Regions from separate parts of the Homo sapiens genome. Here region 1 is linked to region 2. Evidence: promoter capture Hi-C in 16 types of primary human blood cells and fetal thymus (Javierre and others, 2016). All regions are on one chromosome and are shown on one strand. Each heading gives the region's core, a stretch centred on a gene start or on the middle of the fragment in contact. The rest is flanking DNA. Distances are from core to core; before and after follow the strand shown. Region 1 overlaps UBAP2 (ubiquitin associated protein 2). Region 2 holds the start of UBE2R2 (ubiquitin conjugating enzyme E2 R2).

The links. Contacts are between HindIII fragments. The CHiCAGO score rates a contact against its expected background, and 5 or more counts as called.
Region 1: a contact is called between a fragment that was not itself captured here and the fragment with the promoter of UBE2R2 in region 2, in 1 of 17 cell types (fetal thymus). The highest score is 6.3, in fetal thymus.

What each region holds. Positions count from the first base shown.
Region 1 is chr9:34,023,195-34,030,187 of GRCh38, reverse strand. The region is part of intron 1 of UBAP2 (ubiquitin associated protein 2); the gene reads left to right. Among named protein-coding and RNA genes, the nearest start is that of UBAP2, 22 kb to the left of the region's middle. RefSeq lists a silencer at 1,910-2,110. The HindIII fragment of the contact is 425 bases long and covers 4,180-4,604 here.
Region 2 is chr9:33,811,490-33,818,794 of GRCh38, reverse strand. UBE2R2 (ubiquitin conjugating enzyme E2 R2) reads right to left here and starts at 1,635. Exons shown (of 5, transcript NM_017811.4): 1 at 861-1,635. The coding sequence starts at 1,037. UBE2R2-AS1 (UBE2R2 antisense RNA 1) reads left to right here. Exons shown (of 5, transcript NR_170204.1): 1 at 1-168. RefSeq lists silencers at 1,016-1,185, 1,256-1,465, 1,646-1,745 and an enhancer at 2,036-2,125. The HindIII fragment of the contact is 11,190 bases long and covers 1-7,305 here.

The DNA.
Region 1 (6,993 bases), core at 3,143-5,642, 210 kb before region 2:
AGGCGTGAGCCACCGCGCCCGGCTCACCTGGCTGATTTTTAAACTTTTTTATAGAGACGGGTTCTCTCTATGTTGCCCAGGCTGGTCTTGAACTCCTGGCCCCACACTGCTCTCCTGCCACAGCCTCTCAAAGTGTTGGGATTACAGGCGTGAGCCACCGTGCCTGGCCTATGTATGTATTTCTTTCTTTTTTTTTTTTTCGAGATGGAGTCTTGCTCTGTCACCCAGGCTGGAGTGCAGTGGCGCAATCTCAGCTCACTGCAACCTCTGCCTCTCGGGTTCAAGCAGTTCTCTTGCCTCAGCCTCCCGAGTAGCTGGGATTACAGGTGCCCCCACCACAGCGGCCTAATTTTTGTATTTTTAGTAGAGATGGGTTTTCACCATGTTGGCCAGGCTGATCTCGAACTCCTGATCTCATGATCCACCTGCCTTGGCCTCCCAAAGTGCTGGGTTTACAGGTGTGAGCCACCGTGCCTGGCCGCATTTCTTCCTTCTTCTTCTTTTTATTTTTTTAAATAGAGACAAGGTCTTGCTATGCTGCCCAGGCTGGTCTCGAACTCCTGAGCCCAAGTGGTCCTCCCACCATGGCCTCCCAAAGTATTGGGATTACAGGTGTGAACCACTGGGCCTGGCCTATGTATACATTTTCTTTTTTTTTTTTGAGAAGTTTTGCTCTTGTTGTCCAGGCTGGAGTGCCGTGGCATAATCTTGGCTCATTGCAACCTCCGCCTCCTGGGTTCAAGCAATTCTCCTGCCTCAGCCTCCCGAGTAGCTGGGATTATAGGTACCCGCCACCACATCCAGCTAATTTTTTATATTTTTAGTAGAGACAAGGTTTCACCATGTTGGCCAGGCTGGTCTCAAACTCTTGACCTTCTGGTGATCCACCCTCCTCAGCCTCCCAAAGTGCTGGATTACAGGTCTGAGCCACTACGCCTGGCCCTATGTACACATTTTTAGGTGAACGTGTTTTCAGTTCTCTTGGGTGCATACCCAGGAGTAGGATTGCTTGGTCTTTATCATAACTGTTTAATTTCTTTAGGAACTGTTAAGAGTTTTTTTTATTTTTTAGGAGATGTGGTCTTACTCTATTGCCCAGTCTGGAGTGCGGTGACATGATCATAGCACACTGCAGCCTTGATCTCCTAAGCTCAAGGATTCCTACCACCTCAACCTCCTGAATGGGTGGGATTCCAGGTGTGCGCCACCAAGCGTGGCTAATTAAAAAAAAATTTATTGTATAGACGAGGACTTGCCACGCCGCCCAGGTTTGCTCACCTCCTGCTGTGCGGCCCAGTTCCTAATTACCCCAGTCTGCAGCCTGGGAGTTGGGGATTGGGGATCCCTGCTTTATAGTATAGGCTTTTTTGCTTTTTTTTTTCCTTTTTGTAGGAGAGAGAGAACTGTTATAAGTAGTGGTGAAGACTGGTTATGAATAATTACATGCTTTTCAAGAGATTCCAGGGTGAAGAGTCCTGGTTACCTGCTGGGCAAAAGACAAGGTTTAAGGCTGGTCGCAGTGGCTCGTGTCTGTAATCCCAGCACTTTAAGAGCCTGAGGTAGGCGGATCACTTAAGGTCAGGAGTTTGAGACCAGCCTGGCCAACATGGTGAACCCCATCTCTACCAAAAATACAAAAAATTAGCCGGGCGTGGTGGCGGGTGCCTGTAATCCCAGCTACTTGGGAGGCTGAGGCAGGCTAATCGCTTGAACCCAAGAGGCAGAGGTTGCAGTGAGCCAGTGTTGCGCCACTGCACTCCAGCCTGGGTGACAACAGTGAAACTCCATCTCAAAATAAATAAATAAATAAATAAATAAATAAATAAGACAGGGTTTACAGCTGAATTAGCAGGATAGGAATAGGACAGATGTGTGCAAACAGCTATGGGCAATTAATTCCCTTCGTGGCCTTAGGTAACCTGAAAGAGAATTGTGACGATATCAAATAAATTTTGATGTCCTATAGTGTTTGAGTTCACCAGCACTCATCCTTTCCATGGGCAGGTTATATCCATGGAACAGCAGATAACTTTGTGATTCTTCTGTCAGCGAAGTGTGGGTGTAGGGGAGTTCAACCTTGTCCATCAGCTGCTAGAGGCCTGACCCTGCCCTTAACAGCTGCAGAGAATAAAAGTATCAGCTTGTTCAGCTCCTGGCATGCAGGGTACAAGCAGTTGAGCTGCATGGAATTGGATCTCATAGTTGAGTTTCTTGGCACCCTAGATACCTTGTTCTCTCCTCGATTACGGGTGTAGACTTTGTGTTGGTGGCTGTTCTGGGCCTCCTAATTTAGTTGAGATTCTTTTCTTTTCTTTTTTTTTTTTTTGAGATGGAGTCTCGCTCTGTCGCCCAGCCTGGAGTGCAGTGGTGCAATCTCGGCTCACTGCAAGCTCTTGCCTCCCAGGTTCACACCATTCTCCTGCCTCAGTCTCCTGAGTAGCTGGGGCTACAGGTACCCGCCACCACCCCCGGCTAATTTTTTTTTTGTATTTTTAGTAGAGATGGGGTTTCGCCGTGTTAGCCAGGATGGTCTCGATCTCTTGACCTCATGACTCGCCTGCCTTGGCCTCCCAGAGTGCTGGGATTACAGGCGTGAGCCACCGTGCCTGGCCTATTTTTTTCTTTTTTAAATAATAGAAATGGGGTCTCACTGTGTTGCCCAGGCTGGTTTTAAACTCCTGGGCTCAGGCGATCCTCCCCCTCTTGGCCTCCCAGACTGTTGGAGTTACAGGCATGAGCCACTATGCCAGGCCAGATTCTTTTGTTTATTTTTTAATAAATAAATTCAAGTGGATTCTCCTGCCTCAGCCTCCCGATTTGCTGGGATTACAGGCATGCGCCACCACACCTGGCTTATTTTTTGTATTTTTAGTAGGGTAGGGTTTCACTATGTTGGCCAGGCTCATCTCAAACTCCTGACCTCAAGTAATCCTCCCGCCTCAGCCTCCCAAAGTGCCGGGATTACAGGTGTGAGCCACCGTACCTGGCCTTGGCCTCAGATTCTTAATCTGAGCTTTGTCTTCTGCAGGTATGAATAAATGAATTTCCTCTGCAGAGAAGGTTGAGAATATTGACTGTTTTCTTAGTAGAAAATGCGGGAACACAGATTAGAAATTAAACAAAAATAATAGTAGTGGTCACAGAAATATACCAGTATAGAACATATGGGTATCTGAAAGGCTGAGAAGCTAGGTGAGATCTGATCTAGACCAGATCTTTGTCATCAGGCACAAGCTTTGCAGGTGATGCCAACAATAGTTATGCTGTTGTATAGAAGAAGAAGCTGAATTGGGAACTATTATTTATCTGTGACTGAACAGTTAGCCTTACAACATAGCATAATAGTTAAGTGCACACACTGTAGAGCCAAATGTCCTGGGTTTGAATACTGCCTTCACCACTTACTAGCTGTGATTCTCTGTGTATCTTAGTTTCCTCTCTGTAAAATGGGAGTAAAGTAATGTGTACTCTAGAGTGTTGGAAAGATTAGTGACTTAATACTGTACATATAAAGTGCTTAGAATGGTGTCTGGCACATAGTGAATGGTATGTGCTTTCTGCTAGTATTGTCATTACCATTGGTTTTAGATTTTGGGAATGAGTGGACATATATAGATGAAGGACCTGAGACCCATCCTTGCCAGTTTGAGATAGACCCTGCACCACTGGTCTCATGACTCAGTGAACAGCATCTCTGGACATTCTTGATGAAGACTTGCTTCTTTAACATAAATTGTGTATCCTGTTTTTAGTAGTTGAACCCTTAGCCCATTATGTAATTCATGTCATCTGAATTATATTTGGTTTGAAAAAAACATTAGTTTTTCTGTTCCTGAAACGTAAATTTATTTGATGTAGTAGCTGAGATACTTTGCACAAGTGTGTCAACATCCTGGTTTTAGAACTATCTTCCAATCAATGCTTTGTGATGCTGTCTTAAATACATGCAGTGTAAGTATGTAGTTTGGGATTTAATTAACTGTTCAAACTTTTATTAAATGTCTGTTGAAATCTTCCCTCTTCTCAGTATGTTGTCAGCAAGTGTTCTGTAACTTTTCAGAATGATAAAATGTGTCCTTGCTTTTCGTTTAGGGTATATACATGGTTTTTAGAAAAGTTTTTACCCGACCGTGTTTTTTGTATGCCTTAAAGTTAGATGAATTTGTGCTTATGTAAGCTTTAACAGAAATGTTGGTGGTTGTTAAGTCAACCATTTTCAGTTAAGTCTAAACTGAGATCACTTGAAAATGCGGCTGTTTCACTGAGGTATCTTATCTTCAGAAAGGTCCTTGAAAAAAACAGCAGTTAAACCGGGCATGGTAGCTCAGGCCTGTAATCCTAGTTCTTTGGGAGGCCAAGGTGGGAGGATCACCTGAGCCCAGGAGTTTGAGACCAGCCTAGGCAAATATGGGAAGATCGTATGTCTATGAAAAAGAAAACAAAAACGGAAACAAAACTTTTTAGGCAGTTAAAACTTTTTTCCAAAACTATTCCTTTCATAGAGAATATCTTTGTAGTTTTATCAGGTTGGTTTATTCGGCCGGAGACTTTCTTTCCTCATTACATTTAGACAATTTTTTCACTTTAATCGTTAATAGGAAGCTTTATATTATATTTTGCTGATTTTGTTTCTAAAGAAGTTAAAAATGTAGCAGCAGTTCTTTACCTGTGTTAAAATCTATCACATCTTTAATTCACTTTGAGGTGAGATAAATACGGGTTTCAAAATTTGGTTGGATAGATTGAAGTAAGCCTGGTGCTTCCTGCCCCTCAAGAACTTGAGATAGGTATGTTTGAGTTTCTACTGGATTATTTTTAGAATCTTTTGCTCTTGTCTGTTTCTATTCTGAGAATTCTCTTGGAACCTGTTCCAGTGTAGTAGAACTCTTGGGAGTGGAAAGTGATAGATGATGGAACACAAGTGTACACTGAATTCCTATGGTCTGGCAACTGGGTACTTGTTGTAGAAGCATTCCTATTTACTACACACAGCTCCATTTCCCAGAAAAGGAGGACATAGAAGTTCCTCCTAACAGTATGTTAGTTGAAGGTGTTGATTTTTACGGTCTAGTTTCCATGTCTCAGTCATTTTTACAGTTCAGTGGTGGTAACAATTTTTAAGGGTCTTGAAGAATATTTTGGTAACTTACGCTTTTACCTTGATTTAATGGATTCACAATTATCAGAAGTTTTTTTTTTTTGGGGAGACAGAGTCTTGTTCTGTCGCCCCGATTGGAGTGTAGTGGCATGATCTCGGTTCACTGCAACCTCCGCCTCTCGGGTTCAAGTGATTCTCCTGCCTTAGCCTCCCAAATAGCTGGGATTACAGGCTCACGCCACCACACCCAGCTAATTTTTGTAGTTTTAGTAGAGACAGGGTTTCGCCATGTTTGCCAGGCTGGTCTGGAACTCCTGACCGCAAGTGATCCACCCGCCTCAGCCTCCCAAAGTGCTGAGATGACAGGCATTAGCCACCGCGCCTGGCTTTATCAGAAGTTTTATGTAAAATTAATACGGGAAAATTTGTCTGTTGAATCATGCATCCTGTTAAAGTTATTTTCTGACCCGTTTTTCCAGAAGATTTCAGTCACATCCCCCATCCCCTGTGATTGTTGTGCGAAACCTGTTTCATCTCTGGAAATTTTTTTGCTGGACATCTTTAATATTAAGACTTTTTATGAATAGGGAATTAGGTATTATAACATTTCAGTGATAGTGTGGAGAGGCACAACTGACAGAAGACAAGTTAATCTGAATTTATTTAAGCATGCATTCTTGGATGTCCTGAGGCCCTTACAATTATTTTTATTTTTCAAAGAATGTATTTGCTATTTTTTTTTTTTTTGAGACAGAGTTTTGCTGTTGTTTCCCAGGCTGGAGTGCAATGGCGCAATTTTGGCTCACCGCAACCTCTTCCTCCCGGGTTCAAGCGATTCTCCTGCCTCAGCCTCCTGAGTAGCTGGGATTATGGGCATGTGCCCCCACGCCCGGCTAATTTTGTATTTTTAGTAGAGATGGTCGGGCTGGTCTTGAACTCCCGACCTCAGGTGATCCAGCCGGCTCGGCCTCCCAAAATGCTGGGATTACAGGCGTGTGCCACCGCGCCCATCCTTGTATTTGCTATTTTTATTTTTATTTTTTTTTGAGACAGAGTCTTGCTCTGTCACCCGGACTGGAGTGCAATGGCGCCATCTCGGCTCCCTGCAGACTCCGCCTCCCAGGTTCAAGCGATTCTCCTGCGTCAGCCTCCTGGGTAGCTGGGACTACAGGTGCGTGCCACCATGCCCGGCTAATTTTTTGTATTTTTAGTAGAGATGGGGTTTCACCTTATTAGCCAGGATGGCCTCGATCTCCTGACCTCGTGATCCGCCTGCCTTGGCCTCCAAAGTGCTGGGATTACAGGCGTGAGCTACTGCACCCGGCCTGTATTTGCTATTTTTAAGCTAGAAGTCTTTGTAGTAACAATTTATGAATATATAACCCAGAGCAGTAAACCTTAATTAAGAGAAAAACTTTTTCCAAACAATAAAGTAAGCCATGTAGTTTTTATGTTTCACAAAGCAACTATTCTGGTTTAGCCATGCAACCGGGTCATTATTTATAGGCTAATTACGTATTCATTGTGGAATATTAAGAATTGATGATTGGAAGGAGATATAGTCTTAATGTTGATACTGTGAACATGGACCAGTAAAATTTTAATAGTTTGCGTTATAACAAAGAGTTATGGTTTTCTTCCTTGACAAGTGAGGATTCATGTACATTATATCAAAATGTTTGGTTATAGTAGTGAGGCTATAAAGATTAAGTCATTTTTCTGTAAATCAAAAAATTAATGTACATTGAATATGGGTTAAGTATATTTCTTCTGTACATGCAGATTTTTATCACCAGATGGCACTCCTGTATGGAGAAAGTCTCATTTTGTTATTTCACCTAGATTATTTTCTTTCTTTTTTTTTTTTTTTGAGACAGTCTTGCTCTGTTTCCCTG
Region 2 (7,305 bases), core at 386-2,885:
TTAACCACTTGAGCAGGTTTCAATTTTGTCTCTGAAAGTAGGAAGCTATCAGTCTCCCTACATGACTCGTTCCACCCTTTGTGGATACTTCTACCTGTAGAAAAAAAGGTTGGCAAACTTGGTGGCATGGTGAGGACAAAGGGCATTTTGAAAGAACCAGTGACTGAGGTAAGCAGAGAATGTGAACGGAAAGAGGGTTAAAGTTCCCCCAAATGGATAATGACAAGACGACGCGGGCACCCTTTTTTTTTTTTTTTTTTTTTTTACCACCCCTAGGGTCCCATTCTTCACCACCACCCATTGGAATGCAAAGTTGGCACTACCACTACCCAAGATGCCCAACAAATCCTCAAAATGTCAGGGCACTCGGCAGCTTCTGAAATGACAAGCTGGTGCCCCTCCCCCACCCCACCCCCACCCCCACCCCCCAAAAAAGAAAAGTCCAATCCAGTCGGTGCAGGTCACCCTGCCCTCTGGGGCAGTTCCAGCCTGCGCAGGGAGGGGTTCCGACCGGAGAACGAAAAAGCACAGATAGACCACCGCTCTTTCCACCCACCCTCAGCGGGGGAAACAAAGGCGGCCTCCTCCGCCCGTAGACACTACCCTAACCAGAGAGGCTCTCCGATTTCCCGGTGCAGCCTGCCCTCCCGCCCCCGCCCGAGCCCCCGCCCCCATGACAAAGAAAAGGCACTCGGCGAGCAAGGCCTTCCTGCCTCCAGGGATGGGGGAGGGGGCTGCACGGGTGAGAAGCCCCCTCCACTCGCCCGTGCTCATACTCCTGGTCCCAGGAACTGCAGAAAGCGGCGGGGAGCCGGAGGCCTCGGCCGCGGAAGCAGGGTCCGGGAGGAGGGTGAGGGTACCTTGAAGTAGCCGCCTTCGTAGAGGGTGTTGGGGGGTCCGAAGATGGCCACCTCCCAGTTGTAGAGGTCGGACTCGTCCACCAGGGTGATCCGGAAGCCCTCCACCGGTTCCTCCTGCAGGGATTTCAGCTCGAGCATCAGGGCCTTCTGCGAGCTGGTCATCTGCTGCTGGGCCATCGCGGCGGCGGCGGCGGCGGCGGCGCCGGGCCCGGGCCCCAGTCCTCACGCACCGGCCGGGCCGGACCAGGCCCCTCCCCTCCGCTCGCCCTCCGGCCGGGCAGCACCGGGCCCCGGTCTTCACACACCCGGCGGGCCAGACCAGGCCCCACACGGCCCGTGGGCCCGCCCGGGGTCCTCCTCACACACGACGCAGGCCGGGCCGGGCCCTTCTCCTCACACTCGGGCCGGGCGAGAGGAGAGGTCGAGGGAGTTAGGAGAATTCGCTACGGGTCCCGGTCCCGGGCCTCCCCCCCCCGGAGGGGGCCTCAACTTGGGGGGGGGGAGAGGAGGTGGAAGCGGAGGAAGGCGGCGGAGGGCCGGCGATGGTGAAGGGAGGGGGCCGGGCCGGCCCGGGAACGCCGCGCTCGCTCGCCCTCTCGTTCTCTTCGGGGGCCGCAGGGGCCGGAGGGCGCGCGGGGCAGGAGAGGGTGGGGGGAGAGCGGCGTGCGGGGGTCTCGCGGCGGTGGCGGCGGGGGCTGCGCGGGGGGAGGGGCGACGGCGGAGGAGGAGGAGAGCGAGAGCGCCTCGCGCCGCGGGAGCAACGGAGCCGAGAAGCAGGGAGGGAGGGAGGGAGGGAGAGAGGGAGGAGGGGCGCACGCCGGGTGCTGGGCGGCTCTCAGCGGCTGGCGGCCCGACGCGCGTGCGCGTGCCCCTCCCTCCCCTCCCCCCACCGTGCCTGGCTCTCCTCCACTACCACCTCCTCCTCCTCCCGTTTCCACGCCTCCTCTCGGTCTCCCGCGCGGTCGCGGCGCTTTGTGACGCTGGCGCGTGTCCCCCGCCCATAAAGATCCCAGAAGCAGCGGGGACCAAGGGCGGGCGCAGGGATTGCCGTGGCCCCAGAGTGACGGTTGTGCGGCTGGACGCCGCAGTTCCAAAGGCGTGCCCGGGAAGGGAACCCAGGTCTCCCGGCTCTCGGGGCCCTCCCCACTGTGGATCCAGGGGCCTCCGCAGCCATCCTGGGACGGGCCTGGTCGCTGCAGGCCCCTCCCCGTGACACCCAGTCTGCGGTCCCTCCACTTAGTAGCTACTTGATTAGGATGTGCTGACAATGTGGGTCTTTTCGGTGGGAACAGACCTTCCCGCAGGCCAGCCCACAGGCAAGTGTGCCCTTTGGCACGTTACTCACCCTGGGTGCGGCAGTTCCACGTGAGAAACGGGGTGAGACAAAAAGGTCAGCTTCTGCTTCCCTTCTTAACTACAAAGAGGAAGTTGTGAGGAAAAAGACAATAACAAACTGGGTCTCTAGCCCTTCTCATTGTGATTTGGGGCAAGTGCTCAGGCTGCCCTTCGCCTTCGCCATTTGTAAAATAAACTACTGTGGTTGAACTTAGGGGTCAAAGTTCCCTATAGGTGCTTGTGGCTTGAATGTCCACCCTGGAACTGAGGGACTTTCGAGATAATCATAACCGAAGTGAGATGTGGGGACAGTCTTTGGTCCCCCCGTGGTTCAGAATACAGTACTCCTTTCTCCTAGGAAGGCATGTCCTAGGATAACTGCCTAAAAAACATTTCCTAGAAAAGCCAGAATATTGTGAGAGTTCTACACACACAGTTTCGGAACTAGACAGATCTTGGTTCCAACCCTAGTTCCATTACTTCTCCCTGTATCATCAGTTTTTTGTTTTTTGGTTTTGTTTTGTTTGAGACAGGGTCTTGCTCTGTCACCCAGGCTGTAGCACAGTGGCGCGATCATGGCCCACTGCAACCTCCGCCTCCCAGGTTCAAGCGATTCTCCCACCTCAGCCTCCCAAGTAGCTAGGACTACAGGTGCATGCCTCCACACCCGGCTGTTTAATCAGCTTCTGTAAAAGGGGATTAATTATACCCAACACAAGCAATTGTAATGATTAAATGTATGTACAGCATTTAGCGTAGTGACTGGCACATGGTTAATGATTCATAGAAACTTGAAAGAAAAAAACTTTAAGGCATAGCTGTATTCTGGATACCACCACTACCCACCCCTTTTATTGAGACAGGGTCTTACTCTGTTGCCCAGGCTGGAGTACAGTAGAGTGATTATAGCTCACTCTAGCAGTAACCTCCTGGGCTTAAGCCATCCTCTAACCTCAGTCTCCCAAGTAGCAGGACCACAGGTGTGCACAGCCATGCCCAGCTAATTTTTGTATTTTTAGTAGAGACGGGATTTCACCATGTTGGCGAGGCTGGTCTCCAACCCTTGACCTCAGGTGATCCGTCCACCTCAGCCTCCCAAAGTGCTGGGATTACTGGCGTGAGCCACTGTGCCCAGCCAAGGACAGTTTTAGATTTATAGAAAAATTGAAAAGATAGTCAAGTTCCCCTACACCTGGCGCCCAGTTCCCCCTTTTATTAACATATTACATTAGTAGAGTACATGTATTACAATTAATGAGCTAATATTGATACATCACTGTTGACTGAAGCTCATACTTCCCTAATTTTTACCTACTGACCTTTTGCTGTTCCAGGATCTCATCCAGGATACCAGACTACATTCAGTTTTCCTGTTTCTGTAGATTCCTCTTGACTGTGGCAGTTTCTTAGACTTTGTTCTGATGACCTTAACAGTTTTGAAGAATACTGGTCAAGTATTTTGTAGACTGTCCCTCAATTGGGATTGTGATGCTTTTCTCATGATTAGACTGGGATTATGAGTTTTTGAGGGTAAGATCACAGAGGTGAAATGCCATTTCATCACATCATATTAAGGGCACAAATAGCAACATGACTTAGCAATGTTGATGTTGACCTTGATTGTCTGGCTGAGGAAGTGTGTCAAGTCTTTCTACTGTAAAGTTACTCTGCCCCTTCCTCCCCTTTTCTATACTGTACTCTTTGGAATGGAGTCACTCTACACAATCCACACTTAAGCAGCCCCCCCTCCTTTTTTTTTGGCCTTTTTTTTCCTGTAAAAGACGAGGTCTCAGTGTTTTAAAACATCCTTTTCTAGCCGCCAACGCTACTGTCCAGGTCTTGAGACCGAACTCTACTGGAATTAGAGCTCCCCTCAGAGAAGAGGGAGTATCCTAGTGAATGCAGCCCCTCTTATCAAAATGATGGTTTATGTCCCATTCTGTCTTTCCCTCCAGTACCAGTCAATTTAGGGACAAGAGGATTGCTGACCCGGAAATGTGAAAGATGATGTTGACACCTTTAATAGCAAGGCGGTGAGCAGATAAATAGGTAGAAAGGTCATCTTCAAAGCATTTCACCCACAAAAACTCATCACAGCCCCACCCTGACCTGGAGGGTGATGAAGCCCTAGTCTAACCCACTGGAACGTATACCTGGCACTCAGACCAGAAGCGGCCCCCTGGGCTCATGTCAACTCACAAACTCACTAAGCATCCACTGCGGGCATGCCTCTATGCTGGGAGGTTGGAAGCTCAATGCGTTAATGAGTTTTATAATCAAGGCTGTTTATTCTCAGGTCACAGGAACTGGAATTCCACAGAACTAGCTCATGTGTTTTTATTCTAGCCAGTAAGACATTGTTTATTAGTAGACTGCCACTGTGTCTTATTCATGCCTGAATCCTCAGCAACAGGCACACCATCTGACACAAAGTAGACACTAAGTAATTGTTCTCAAGAGACTCATGGCCAAGGACAGGAAGACAATGAGTAATCACAAAATCACAAATTGAACCCTACCCTCTATCCCCATGCCTATCTGTTCTCTCAAGCACATAGTAGGTGCTCAAGACTATAAATTCCAAAACTCTACACCAGCTACTCCAATGTTTGGCACATATTAAGTGCTCAAAACATATTTGTTAAAAAGAATGAATGCTAGAAACAGCTTCCTAGAGCTTTCTCATATTGTTTCATAATGGCATGTAGATTGACTTGCCTGATTGGTGCCCTCTGGTGGTAAAGAAAAACAGCACTCAAAATTTAAATTTAAAAAATAATATTTTTTTTTAAAAAGAAAACAGAGCGCTTAACGCTCAGTGTCAGGCATCACCTGGTACTTTCCAACCAGGGTACTTCTTCTTCTTCCTCTTCTTTTTTTTTTTTTTTTTTTTTTAACTGAGACAGAGTCTTGCTCTGTCACCCAGGCTGGAGTGCAGTAGCATGATTTTGGCTCGCTGCAACCTCCGCCTCCTGGGTTCCAGCAATCCTCCCACCTCAGTCCCCGGAGTAGCTGGGACTACAGGCGCAGTGCCACCACACCGGACTAATTTTTGTATTTTTAGTAGAGACAAGGTTTCATTATGTTGCCCAGGCTGGTCTTGAACTCCTGAGCTCAAGCAATCCGCCCACCTCAAACTCTCAAAGTGCTGAGATTACAGGTGTGAGCCACCATGGCAGGCCCACTACTAATTTTAGAGGAAGACTGTGGCTCCTTAAGAGTAGTGTCCAAGTTTTACATATATGTTAACATATTAAATTTCAAAAAGTTGGCCAGGCGCAGCGGCTCATGCCTGTAATCCCAGCACTTTGGGAGGCTGAGGCAGGCAGATCATTTGAGGTCAGGAGTTCGAGATCAGCCTCGCCAACATGGTGAAACTTTTTTCAACATGGTTAAATTTTTTTCCTAAGTATTTTATTTTCTTGTAGCTATTATAAATGGGATTTCCTTCTTGAATTCTTTCTCGGCTAGTTATTACTGGTGTATAGAAATGCTACTAATTTTTGTATGTTGATTTTTTTATCCCACAACTTTTTTTTTTTTTTTTTGAGACAGAGTCTTGCTCTGCAGCCCAGGCTGGAGTGCAGTGGAGCAATCTTGGATCACTGCAACCTCTGCCTGCTGGGTTCAAGCGCTTGTCCTGTCTCAGCCCCCTGAGTAGCTGGGACTACAAGCACATGCCACCATGCCCGGCTAATTTTTGTGTTTTTAGTTGAGATGGGGTTTCACTGTATTGGTCAGGCTGGTCTTGAACTCCTGACCTTAGGTGATCCTCCCGTCTTGGCCTCCCTAAATGCTGGGATTACAGGCGTGAGCCACCATGCCTGGCCATATCCTACAACTGTACTGAACTTATTTATCAGATCTAAGAGCTTTTGCTGGAGTTGTTAGGTTTTTGTAAATACAAGATCATGTCATCTGCATAGAGGGACAATTTTACTTTCTCTTTTCCAATTTGGATATCTTTTGCTTGTTTCTATTGCCTGATTGCTCTGGCTAAGACTTCCAGTACTGTGTTGAATATGAGTGGCGAAAATAGACATCCTTGTCTTGTTCCAGTTCCTAGAGGAAAAGCTGAAAGCTATGATAGTATGATGTTAACTGTGGGTTTGTCATATGTAGGCTTTATTATGTTGAGGTATTATACACTCCTTCAATGCCTAGTTTGAGAGTTTTTATCATGAAGAGATTTTGAATTGTATCAAATGCTTTTTCTACATCTCTTGAAATGACCTTATGGTTTTTGTCCTTCTTTCTGTTGATGTGATGTGTCGTCTTTGTTGATTTGTGTATGTTGAACTACCTCTGCATTTTTGGGACAAATCCCACTTGATCCTGGCATGTTATCTTTTTGATGTGCAGTTGGATTCAGTTGGTTAGTATTTGTTGAAAATTTTTACATCTGTGTTTATCAGGGATATTAGAGTGTAGCTATCTTTTTTTGTTGTTGTTGCAGTCTTACCTGGTTTTGCTATCAGGGTACTGCTAGCCTAGTAGAATGAGGAAGAATTCCCTCCTTTTCAATTTTTTGGAATAGTTTGAGGAGAATTGGTGTTAGTTTGTCTTTGTTAGTTTGGTAGAATTTGGTATTAAAGTCATTAGCAGTGAAGCCATTGGGTCCTGGGCTTTTCACTGTGGAGATACTTTTTATTATGGATTCAATTTCATTACTCATGATTGGTCTGTTCTGGTTTTCTGTTTATTCCTGATTCAATCATGGTCGGTTGTATGTGTAAAGGAATTTATCCATTTCCTCTAAGTTTTCTAGTTTATTAATATAGTTGTTCATAATAGTGTCTGATGATTTTTTGTATTTCTGTGGTGTCAGCTGTAATGTCTACTTTTATTTATTTATTTATTGAGATGGAGTCTCGCTCTGTTGCCCAGGCTGGAGTGCAGTGGCATGATCTCAGCTCACTGCAAGCTCCACCTCCCAGGTTCCAGTGATTCTCCTGCCTCAGCCCTCTGAGTAGCTGGGATTACAGGCATGCCCCACCACATCCAGCTAATTTTTTTGTATTTTTTTTAGTAGAGATGGGGTTCCACCCTGTTGGTCAAGCTGGTCTCGAACTCCTGAACTCCTGACCTCGTGATCCACCCACCTTGGCCT